Regions from separate parts of the Homo sapiens genome. Here region 1 is linked to region 2. The links are contacts of gene promoters, found by promoter capture Hi-C in human tissues and cell types (Jung and others, 2019). All regions are on one chromosome and are shown on one strand. Each heading gives the region's core, a stretch centred on a gene start or on the middle of the fragment in contact. The rest is flanking DNA. Distances are from core to core; before and after follow the strand shown.

The links. Contacts are between HindIII fragments. The study calls those that stand out against the background at their distance.
Region 1: a fragment that was not itself captured here is called in contact with the fragment with the promoter of ST8SIA6 in region 2 in 1 of the 25 tissues and cell types used here (IMR-90 fibroblasts).

What each region holds. Positions count from the first base shown.
Region 1 is chr10:17,269,186-17,274,357 of GRCh38, forward strand. No RefSeq gene overlaps it. Among named protein-coding and RNA genes, the nearest start is that of VIM-AS1, 42 kb to the left of the region's middle. The HindIII fragment of the contact is 6,466 bases long and covers 1-4,721 here.
Region 2 is chr10:17,452,982-17,458,800 of GRCh38, forward strand. It overlaps ST8SIA6 (ST8 alpha-N-acetyl-neuraminide alpha-2,8-sialyltransferase 6), which reads right to left and starts at 1,614. Exons shown (of 8, transcript NM_001004470.3): 1 at 1,174-1,614; 2 at 578-676. The coding sequence starts at 1,274. The HindIII fragment of the contact is 8,458 bases long and covers 1-5,819 here.

The DNA.
Region 1 (5,172 bases), core at 239-2,738, 180 kb before region 2:
AAATAACTTCAAAGTGTGAATGACATGAACTTGATGATTCTAACTCTTCATTTTTTTCAAATAGAGAAGCCCAGCAGCTTGGTAGGACCCAGTTCCCACCTTATTTTGATACTCCAGAAATAAGTGAGTTGAAGATCGTCAAACAGAAAAACTCAAAATAACAGTGTAACCTTCTTTTATTTAGGATTATAAACATCATACAACTTTTTTATTAAAGAAAATGATAATTTTTATTCAGTTCCTTAAAATTCACCCTATAGTCTCTAATTCAATGTTAAAATAATATAAGTCTTGAGGCTGAGGTGGGAAGATCACTTGAGGTCAGGAGTTTGAGACCAGCATGGCCAACATGGTAAAACCCCACCTCTACCAAAAATACAAAAACTAGGTGGGCATGGTGGTGTGCGCCTGTAGTCCCAGCTACTTGGGAGGCAGAGGCAGGAGAATCACTTGAACCTGGGAGGCAGAGGTTGCAGTGAGCCGAGATCCCATCTCTGCACTCCAGCCTGGGTGACAGAGTGAGACTCCCTCTCAAATAATAATAATAATAAAGTCTTACTTTTGGTTATTTTCTAATCTGAAGTCTTCCCACTCACTAGTCTAAGAATATGACACAATTGTCCCCTATTAAATCATCACCTTTTGTTGATTCTTGCTCTTTCCAGCTATCTTGAAACATAAATATAGAAACCTCAGGTTAATGGATATCTCAAATTTGAAGGCAAATGAACACTATGTATAGCTATAAAAGAATGATGTACACCAGGCTCAGCTATGGCGCACACCATCCCTCCTATAGAAACCTAAAATATCTATGACTTGTAGTAGATCAAAGTTATGAACCTATATTCCTTCTTGTACTTACTTCAAATCTTCTTGAAAGAACTTTAAAAATGTGAAGGTTATATTATTTCTCTCTTACCAAACAGATGGGATCACAGTACTTCTAAAATATTAACCTCATTCTAGATTTCACTTTTATTCATTTCTGGTTAAAGAGAGAATATAGGGCATAGTGAAGGGTTTTGGAAGCCTGAGGAAGTTATTTTTATATTTACCTCAAACTTACGTAAATGCCCTCTTTTTACACAAAGACCTTGCTGTGTAAAGAGTACATTGTAGTTATTATAGTTGCCACTTCTTCTTCTTCTTTTTTTTTTTTTTTGAGACTGAGTTTCGCCCTGTCACCCAGGCTGAAGTGCAGTGGCATCATCTTGGCTCACTGCAAACTCCACCTCCCAGGTTCAAGTGATTCTCCTGCTTCAGCCTCCCAAGTAGCTGTGATTTCAGGCGCCTGCCACCACGTCCAGCTAATTTTTTTTTATTTTTAGTAGAGACGGCATTTCACCACGTTGGCCAGGCTGGTCTTGAACTCCTGACCTCAAGTGATCCACTCACCTCGGCCTCCTAAAGTGCTGGGATAACAGGCATGAGCCACCGTGCCCAGACCACTGCTTCTTTTTCCCTAAAGAAACAGTAGCTCCCCCAACCTCACAGGCTCCCCTTGTGAAAATAAACACTGAGATGATATCTTTGAATTGATAAAGCAAAATAAATAAGATGCGACAGAATAAAGCAAGGGAAGTAAAGGAACACTTTCTTGAGAAATCAAATATATATGAAGTCTACTTCTCTATTCTTGTTTATTCACATCTTAAATTTGATCTGCATAATATCTGGTAAAGTTCTCCCTGTGGTTGCAGAAAGACATTCAGAAATCAGAATATTTGACTTAAGGAGTTAAAACTACAGCAACACAAGAAAAAAAGTCTGTTAAGAGTACAATTTTAAAAGTACTTAGCCTTGGCCAGGTGCAATGACTCATGCCTGGAATCCCAGAGCTTTGGGAGTCTGAGACAGGAGGATCACTTGAGCCCAGGGGTTTGAGACCAGCCTGGGCAACATGGTGAAACCCTGTTTTGACAAAAAATATAAAAATTAGCTGAGCATGGTGTTGTGCACCTGTACTTTTAGCTACTATAGCTATTTGGGAGGCTGAGGTGGGAGGATCGCTTGACCTTGGGAGGTTGAGGCTGCAGTGAGCTATGACTGCACCACTGCACTCCAGCCTGCCAACAGAGAGAGACCCTGTCTCAAAAACAAATAAACAGGCCAGGCGCAGTGGCTCACACCTGTAATCCCAGCACTTTGGGAGGCTGAGGCGGGCAGATCCAAGGCCAAGGCGGTGGTGGGCGACAGAGCAAGAATCCATCTCAAAAAAACAAAGAAAAACAAAAAAAGAAAAGAAAAAACTTGGTCTCTTCTGTGTGTCAGATAAGATTTTAAGTGCTAGGGATACACAGTGAACAAGATAAAGACTCTGCCCTCCAGGTGCTTAAATTATATACTATGTATGTGTGTATATATATGTATATATACATATATATGGTGAATTTTTCCCATTTTCTATTTCTATTGTATACATACATGGTATATATGTTATATATATATACACACACACGGTATACTTACATACATGGTATATATCTATAATGTATACATATGTATGTATATATACACATATGTGGGTATATATATATATATACCCACATATGTGTATCTATGTGTGTGTGTGTATATATATATATATATATATACACACACACATATATATATGGTGAATTTTTCGCATTTTCTATTTCCTTTCCGAGACCATGAGTGTAAGGGGGAATTTGGAACAATACATTTATGGTGGTAGACATCAGAAAACATTTCAGATCTCACAAATGAAGCACTAGCTTCTTCCCCCACCTTCAGGAATGAAATCACTCCTCCATATTAAACACCTGGATAAGCATTGCTCAACTTTATTAAATGACCGTTTGTGAAGTGTCTGTGATTAATTGCAATCAACTCATTTATTGAGTGCTATCCGGCACTAGAACAGATGCATTTAACAGGAGATAGGATAAAGTCCCAACCTTTAAAGCATATGGAATTTACATTTATGATTTTTTTAAAAAAAAAAAGACTAAAGTAATCAAGACAAACTCAAGTATCTTTCTATGTAATCTAAAGCAGGGGTCTGCTTTATGAAAAAAATGACATATTTTGACATAAAGCTTCTGTTTTTCCTGGTCGAATTGAAGGCAAATAGCTCAGCATTTCATAAAATTATGAGCTTCAAAATTTCTCTCTGCAGATCCCGTCTCTGCCTTCAATACGTTCCCAGGTCTGCCTTGGGAAAAGTTTGTGACGTTCTAGTTTTTAGGAGACCGTTTTGCTATTATTCTTTCCACCTCCTTCCACTCCCCAAACCAGAGAGAATATGGTATCAGTTAAGTAGGGACTAACAGAAAGCGATTCTTTCAGGTGTGAGCCCCAGCTGAGGTTTGAGGGGAGTGGGTGGATGGGCAGATAACTGAAAGAACACTCAGGGGGCCGTAGGCAGGTGAATATGGTTTTATGCAGCAGCTCTGTCATCGGCAGCGTACTCACACCGTCCACCTTTACCTCGGCTATTTGCTCCAGCTCTGAGGCTCTCGCCGACCCCACACCTGCAGCTGCGCTCTCTGCCCTACAAGGCCAGCTCTCTCTTACAGGGAGAGCAGCTTAACTCTTTCCCTTTGGGCACAAGCTGGTTCCTGGCTCCCCACTGCCTGCCTTCAAGGTGACCCACTCTCCCTTACAGGGGTAAGTAGCCTTACTCTCTCTCTGGGCACCAGCGCCCGAGCCATGTCGAGCCATTCCGTTCCGTGCTGGGCCGAGCCAAGCCATATGCACAGTGTCAGCCGGGCAGTTATACTTTTTCAAAGAATAATGGCTCAAAGACAGGTATGAGCTTACCCAAACAGGTTATATAACAAGTGGAGTATTGCGCCTGTGCCCTAAACTCACTAAGTCATGCAGGCCCGGATGTCTGCCTCAGCCTAATTCTTGACCAAAGCTCATCCGTGTAGCTTACAGATTCACTCTTAGGTATTTGCTCAATCACACGTTGCATTTTCTCTAAACCTCTCATCCTATGTCCTCAACTCCATACCCACCTCCCCACCACCCTCACCACCCTAAACTTCCAACAGAGAGAGTAGAACATTTTTAGGATACAAGGAACACCTGAAATCACCTTTAGGCCTTTTCAGTGGATCGAAAGGAAAACCTGATGTTGACCTTTGGATAGACAACCAGGAGGGAGGGCCGTCAAATAGGCGGCCCTAGAATGACCCCTGAATCAGAGCTGGAGGACGCAGGGTGAGCCTTGTAGAGGTTTAGGCCAGGCTGTGCTGCTGAAGAAGAAAGGTCCTCTGGGTCTCCTCATCACTGACACCTTTCTCACACACACACACACACACACACACACACTCTTCCCCAAACCCTTAATTCAGGCTTCTCTAGGGAAGCAGTTTTCACTTTGTTTTTTCAGCAGGTATTCATGATAGATGTGAGTCATGTCTACCACACAACTCACTCAAAAGGAGTGCTGGGATTAACCCTGAGAGTGAGTCACGTGATAGAGCCTCACTCTCATTTCATGTCCAGGGAACAGAAGATTCTGCTTGGTAGCTGTAACTCACTTTCTTTCCTGGACATACAGAATTCTGCTTGCTAGTTGTAACTCGCTTTTTCTTTCCTTCCTTCCTTTCTTTCTCTCTCTCTTTCTTTCTATATAAAATTCTGCTTGGTAGCTGTAACTCCCCTCCCCCTCCCCGCCTTCCCCTTCCTCCTTCTTCCCTCCTCCTCCTCTCCTCCTTTCCTCCTCCTCTCCTCCTCCTCCTTCTCCTCCTCCTCCTTCTCCTCCTTCTTCTTCTCCTCCTTCTTTTCTTCTTCTTCTTCTTTTCTCTCTCTCTCTCTCTTGCTTTTGTTTTTTGAGACAGGATCTAACTCTGTCACCCAGGATGTTGTGCTGTGGTACAATCACAGCTCACTGTAGCCTTGACTTCCTGGGCTCAAGCAATCCCCCCACCTAAGCCTCCCAAGTAGCAGGCATTACAGGTGTGCACCACCTTGCCCAGCTCATTTTTACATTTTTTGTAGCGATGGGGGGAGGTCCTACTATGTTATCTAGTTGGTCTTGAGCTCCAGTCTCAAGCAATCCACCTGCCTTGGACTCCCAAAATGCTGGGATTACAGGCATGAGCCACCGCACCTGGCCTATTATCTCTTTCTTTCCCAAGGAAAGTATACGAGAGTTCTTCATGGGGATAACTTTGCATCCGCTCTATTTTAATTTTT
Region 2 (5,819 bases), core at 364-2,863:
TTATACAGTTCTATTTTCTAACTTTCTGCACAAAGCTGTATTACTTTTACAATCTGAAAAAAAAACAATTACTGCCTATGAATAAAAACACATGTGAATGATAAGAAAAAAAATTTAAGCCTCCAGTCACTAAGGACAAAATCATTCCTAGCACGCAAAACAAACCTGAATCTTAACACCGGTGCCCTTTAAAGCATAGAAAAGAAAAAGCAAACCAACCAAATCCCTCCATAAAGACAGGCTGAGCTGCTTCTCTCCAAAGGTGGCGGGGTCGGGGGCGGGGGTGCTTTCAACACACCATTGTCGAGAGGAAAACTCAGCACCCGTTTTTCAAATGCAGCTGCTGGAGGATCCCCCTTGATTCAAAGACCATTCACATCCAGGCTTAGAGGGTTGAGGGAGTGTGAAGGGTGCCCCCCCCCAACCCCGCGCCCTCTTCAAACACACGCACACTCTTACACTCACTCGCGCCGTCCCAGCCTGCCTACTCCCAACGAGTCCAAGCCGGTGCAGCCGCGCCCCATGCCCGGCTCGCAGCTCCCGAGCCCCAGTCCGCCCGCGCTGGGCGCCGCTGTACCTGTTAGTGGCGCGCGGTACCGCGGTCGCCGGGCTCCGGAGCGTCCTCAGCGCTGCGGGGGTGCCGTGGGTGGCCTCCCTGCTTTCCTCCACCAGAATCCTGCACAGCCGGGGAGAAAACTTAAGTTGCTACACCCCGCCGGGAGCTGTTGGCTGAAAGGCTGGGAGTCGCGCTCCTTGCCTGGCAGGGAGATCTCGCACTCCCCGGCTCCCAGGCCAGGTCCCCAGCCCCAGAGTTGGAAGAGCCTTAGGGCGGGAAGGAAGAGACAGCAAGGACCAGAATGGGGAGCATGAGATCCTGATGCGGAACCCGACGGCAGGTCCCGCTCCACAGCTGCCTCGCCCACAGCGATGCGCGCTAGAGCCCCCGCAGCCCTGACCGGTCCCTCTGCTCCCCAGCCGCCGTCCACCGGTCGGAGGGTCGCCTCCCTGCGACCCCCTCCCCCACTCCACTCTCAGGCCGTCGCCGCCCGTGGGCTGCTCCCCGCCGCGGCCAAAAGTCTCCGCGCCCGAGGGGAAGCGATGGGCGGCTTGGGGGTCCGGGGGCGCCAGGCGGGGCGCGCGGCGCGGGGCGCGGCCGGCGGGTGGGTGGGTTACCTGGCGCGGCCGGGCGCGTCTGCCGGGCACCAGAGCAGGCGCAGCAGCAGCAGCAGCAGCAGGCTGGCGAGCAGGGCGAGCAGTGCGCCCCCCGGCCGCATCCTGAGCCACAGGCGCCGCCGCCACCGCTGCTGCCGGGGCGAAGCACAGCCCGGGCGGCCCCGACTCGCGGCTCCCGCCGCCGCCGCCACCGCCGCCGTGGCCGCAGCCCCGCGCACCCACAGCGTTCACAGGCGGCAGCGAGGGGCGCCCGCAGCCCACCCGGCAGAGTCTCCGCGGCGGGCGGAGAAGAAGCCGCGTTCGGGCTCGCCCCGGGCTCCCGGCCCCGGCCCGCGGAGCGCCGCGATCGGCTGGCAGATGACGATTCGCCGAGCTCGCCGCCTGTCCTCCCGGAGGCGCTCGGAGCTGCTGCGGGCTCCGGTCGCCGCTGCCACTGCTGCTGCCGCCGCCGCCGCGCGGGGTCACCTGAAGGTTGGGGCGCGGAAGCTCAACTCCGTGCTGATTGGGCTCCAAGTTTTCTGCGCCCTCGCCTCGTCCCGAGTGCCCGCGAATCCCCCGGACGCCCACGCAGACCACCCAGCCACACCACAACTCTGCCTGCGGAGAGAGGAGAGGAGAAAAAGGGGCCGCTTCAAAAACTTTCAAAACTGTGCAGTCGCTTGGCTGGATCCTCCCACGCATGAAGAAAGCTGGGGACTGGGGAATTGCTGGGTGGATCATGACACTGAACAGAAGCAGTAACCTGTGCTTACTTCAACCCAGATTCAGAGGGACAGCGAACTGGTATGAGGGGCTAGGAGACCTTTAGGCATGAGCACATTACTACCTGGAGACCCGTTTAGCCCCTGCCTGTATTTGCAAATAGTTTTATTGGAAAACCTCCATGCCCATGGCTTTGTATTATCAGTGACTGCATATGGCTGTATGATCTAGGGCTGCAAGGGCAGAATTGAGTAGTGATGACAGAGGTGGCATAGCCCACAGGGCCTAAAATATTTACCATTTGAAACTTTCCAGGAAAAGTTTGCATACTGCTCTTAAATAAGCAAGAGGCCATTAGCTTGAGGCTGTCTCTGTACGTTGAGTTCCCACCTAACAATGGAAACCTACATTAGGCTGTAATGAACAGGGGGCTACTGGCCAATCATGGGCAACCAACTCATTATACCAGGCCCCACAAGGCAGCCTGCATAGCTATAGCCAATCAGTTTCTCCACTGTGCTTCTGAGTTTGGCCTATCAGGCTTTGCTGCTCACACCATGGGGTGGACCTCACTGGACCTCCTCTGGTTGTGAGTGCTGCCCAATTCATGAACCCTTTGCTCGAATAAACTGTGCTAAATTTAATTTGTCTGATGTTTTTCTTTTAACACTGCTATGGGCTGAATGTTTGTGTCTCTACAAAATTCATATGTTGAAACCCAAATCCCCAATCTAATGTGGTGGTATCTGGAGGTGGGGCCTTTCATACCTGATTAGTTCATGGGGTGGAGGCTTCCTGGTGGAATTAGTTCCCTCATAAGAGCAGGCAGCGGGGAATTTGCCTCCTCTCTCTCTGCTCTGTGCAGTGTAAAGACACAGCACGAGGGCAGCTTTCTGCCAAGCAGGAAGAGGACCCTCACCAGAACCTGACCATGCTGGCACACTGATCTTGGGTTTCTTACCCTCCAGAACTGTGAAAAATAAATTTCTGTTCTTTCGGTCACCCAGCCTATGGTATCCTTCTTATGGCAGCCAGAACTAAACCACGGTCTAGATCATATTGGTTAGTATCTCATTTACGAGTATCTCATCTGTTGCAGGAGAGTGATCCAATGACACTATGAAACAGACTGGCTCTCTATTTTTTTAAAAGTGGGTCTCAACTCTCTATGCCCTAAACTATCCTGACTGCCCAAGCCCCCACTTAGCCACTTCCCTAGGTTTTAATTCCATTGTGGTTATATGCAGGCTTATAAAATTATTCACTCTTACTTTTGTATAGTTTCGAGATTTTTCCAAATGCAACCCTTGGATTCCACCATCTTGGGAGTACCTTGATAAGATCTTTTGAAATGACTTCAATTTTGAAAAGGCTTTCATGAGTTAACTTTCCCAAGCAACAAAAATATGATATTTCAACTGACATCTCCTAGAAGCATATGGTCTTCACCTGAAAGAGGCCCAAGTGAGAGCCATTTGGGAGCAACCAGGCCAGACAGCCAAATAAAGCTGTCACCAAAGATTCCATCACAAGAAAACATATATCAAGGCAAGAGATACCAGTGTCCCTAGTCTCTTTCTGCTAATTCCGGATTTACTCTAAAAACATCTTGTTGAATACAAAACAGAAGTTTGCACATAATAATTGATCAATAAATGTTTAGTCAATGAATAAAAGCACATAAGAACTAGTGTTATTTTTAAAGAGAAAATGGAGCAAAAAAACTAAAAATAAATGTGACTAGGAATGTGATTTCCTTCTATAGCTCATCACTGCTGTTAATATATGTACTAATCAGGAATAAAAACAGGCTTCTACTTTTATATAAAACTAATATTTGTAGGGATTCAGTTGCTTCATCTGAGTATGACATAAAGTAATGCTATACTCAGGTAGTGATAGAATAATACAGAAATCTAGTTCTACATATTTCAAAGTTTAAGCCGTTTGTTAAATAAGTAGAATATGGCACAATCATCTAGAAAATGAAGAGTTGCCTGGATTTGAAAGATATTCCAATTTTTATCTCAGTGCAGAAAATTGTGCAGAAAACTAATGCTGAACATGGTTTGCAGAAAAAGAAAAAGGCATTATTGTATCAGCCAGGAAGCTGCAATTTCACCTAATTTACTAAAGTTTAATATTTCAGCACAGCTGGGCTCAAGGCAACAGCAGAAGAGTCAGCCTTGCACTGGGTTCCCTAAACACCCTTGCTGCAAATGAAGTTACTTTTTATCAAGCCAATGGCTATCAGCAGGGGACTCACAAAAGCCCATTTTAATTGGAAAAACAAGTGTAAATTTGCAATGGGAATTCTGAGCCCAGTGTTAAAATTTGACAGTAGGGAACTTTACCACAAGCTTTCTAATTTAAGACCTGGGTGGGTAAGATATGAATTATCTTGCTCATCCTTGAGAGAGAAAGAAACCTGACAAGAAAATGATACCTTAACATTATTAGCCATAGAACCACTACTGGAAAAGTGTGCATTTGGTAGCTTAACATTTCCAGGCTTGACTTGCAACCCTAAAGATCTATGCCATGTAGTAATTTGAAATGCTGCTGAGGCCAGGAATTGAAACGTAAACTCAGGTTGACATCCGGATGCTGCTCCCAAGCTTGTGTAAGTGGCGAGCCTACCTCACTCACCCAGTCCACTCCACATGGGCCTCTCATTTTGTCTTTGTTATTCTTTATTCATCATCATGAATGTCCTTACCTTCATAAAATAACTTTTAAAAAATGATTGGGAAGTTTCGATATATAAAAAGTCTCCAGGCCTATGGAAATCTTGAAAGTTGAAGTTTCTGATTTGGAGTGTAAGGTTTCTTATTTGGCTAACAAGTGACTTTCCACAAAAAAGATGATTCAGGGGAAAGCTAGAAACGTGTAAGATTTCCATAAGTGTGGATTTGGGGATTCAGAAAGATGAATCACAAATATCAAGAGTCTACCTGACATTTGATATATACATAATATATATGTATATACACTATATACATAATACATAATGTACAGAATATATAGCATTATATACATATTGTGTATACACATTATGTATACACATACGTATTATGTATACATATTATGTATATATTATATACATAGTATATACTACATATATACATAATATATACTACATATATAATATATAATGTATATATACACACTAGATACATTATACTATATATGTATGTATATATACATTATACATTATGTATATATATACTATGCATATACATTCCATATAATTATGCATATGCAAATTGTTATATAATATTATGTATATATATTATGTATATTATATTATATTGTGTATATACATGATTATATATTATGTATATAATATAAATGTATAGAAACTATATATACATATATTTGTTTACATAGTATGTATATATACTGATAGCTATAATGTATCTCCATAATTTTTTTCCTTATATTGAAGATTCTTACTGATATATAACAGTGAATGAGTGTACATAGATATGCTATATCTCTACATAGATTATGTGTATATATACACACACTATATAAATAAATATGTGTATATAGAATGCATATACATGTATACTATGTATATACACACTAAATACATAGCAGATACAAATATATCTCACTGGTATATATGAACATCTTCAATATAAGGAAAAAAAGGAATGCTGTGAGAAACGCACAAAAAATTGATGCACCAAAGACTCTTTTCTTCATTCGGGAGACATTTTTACCTCTCTGTTTAGAAAGGATGATTTCTGATGTTTCAGACTGCTTGACTGGTTTTTGTAACGTTAAAGATTTGTGAGGACTACAGGACAATAGGTCATTTATAACATTAAGCTATACCTTGGGGAGGACGTTTATAAGACTATGATAACCAAGACTACATATTTTCTTTTTTTTTTTTTCTTTTTTTTTTTTTTTTGAGACGGAGTCTCGCTCTGTCG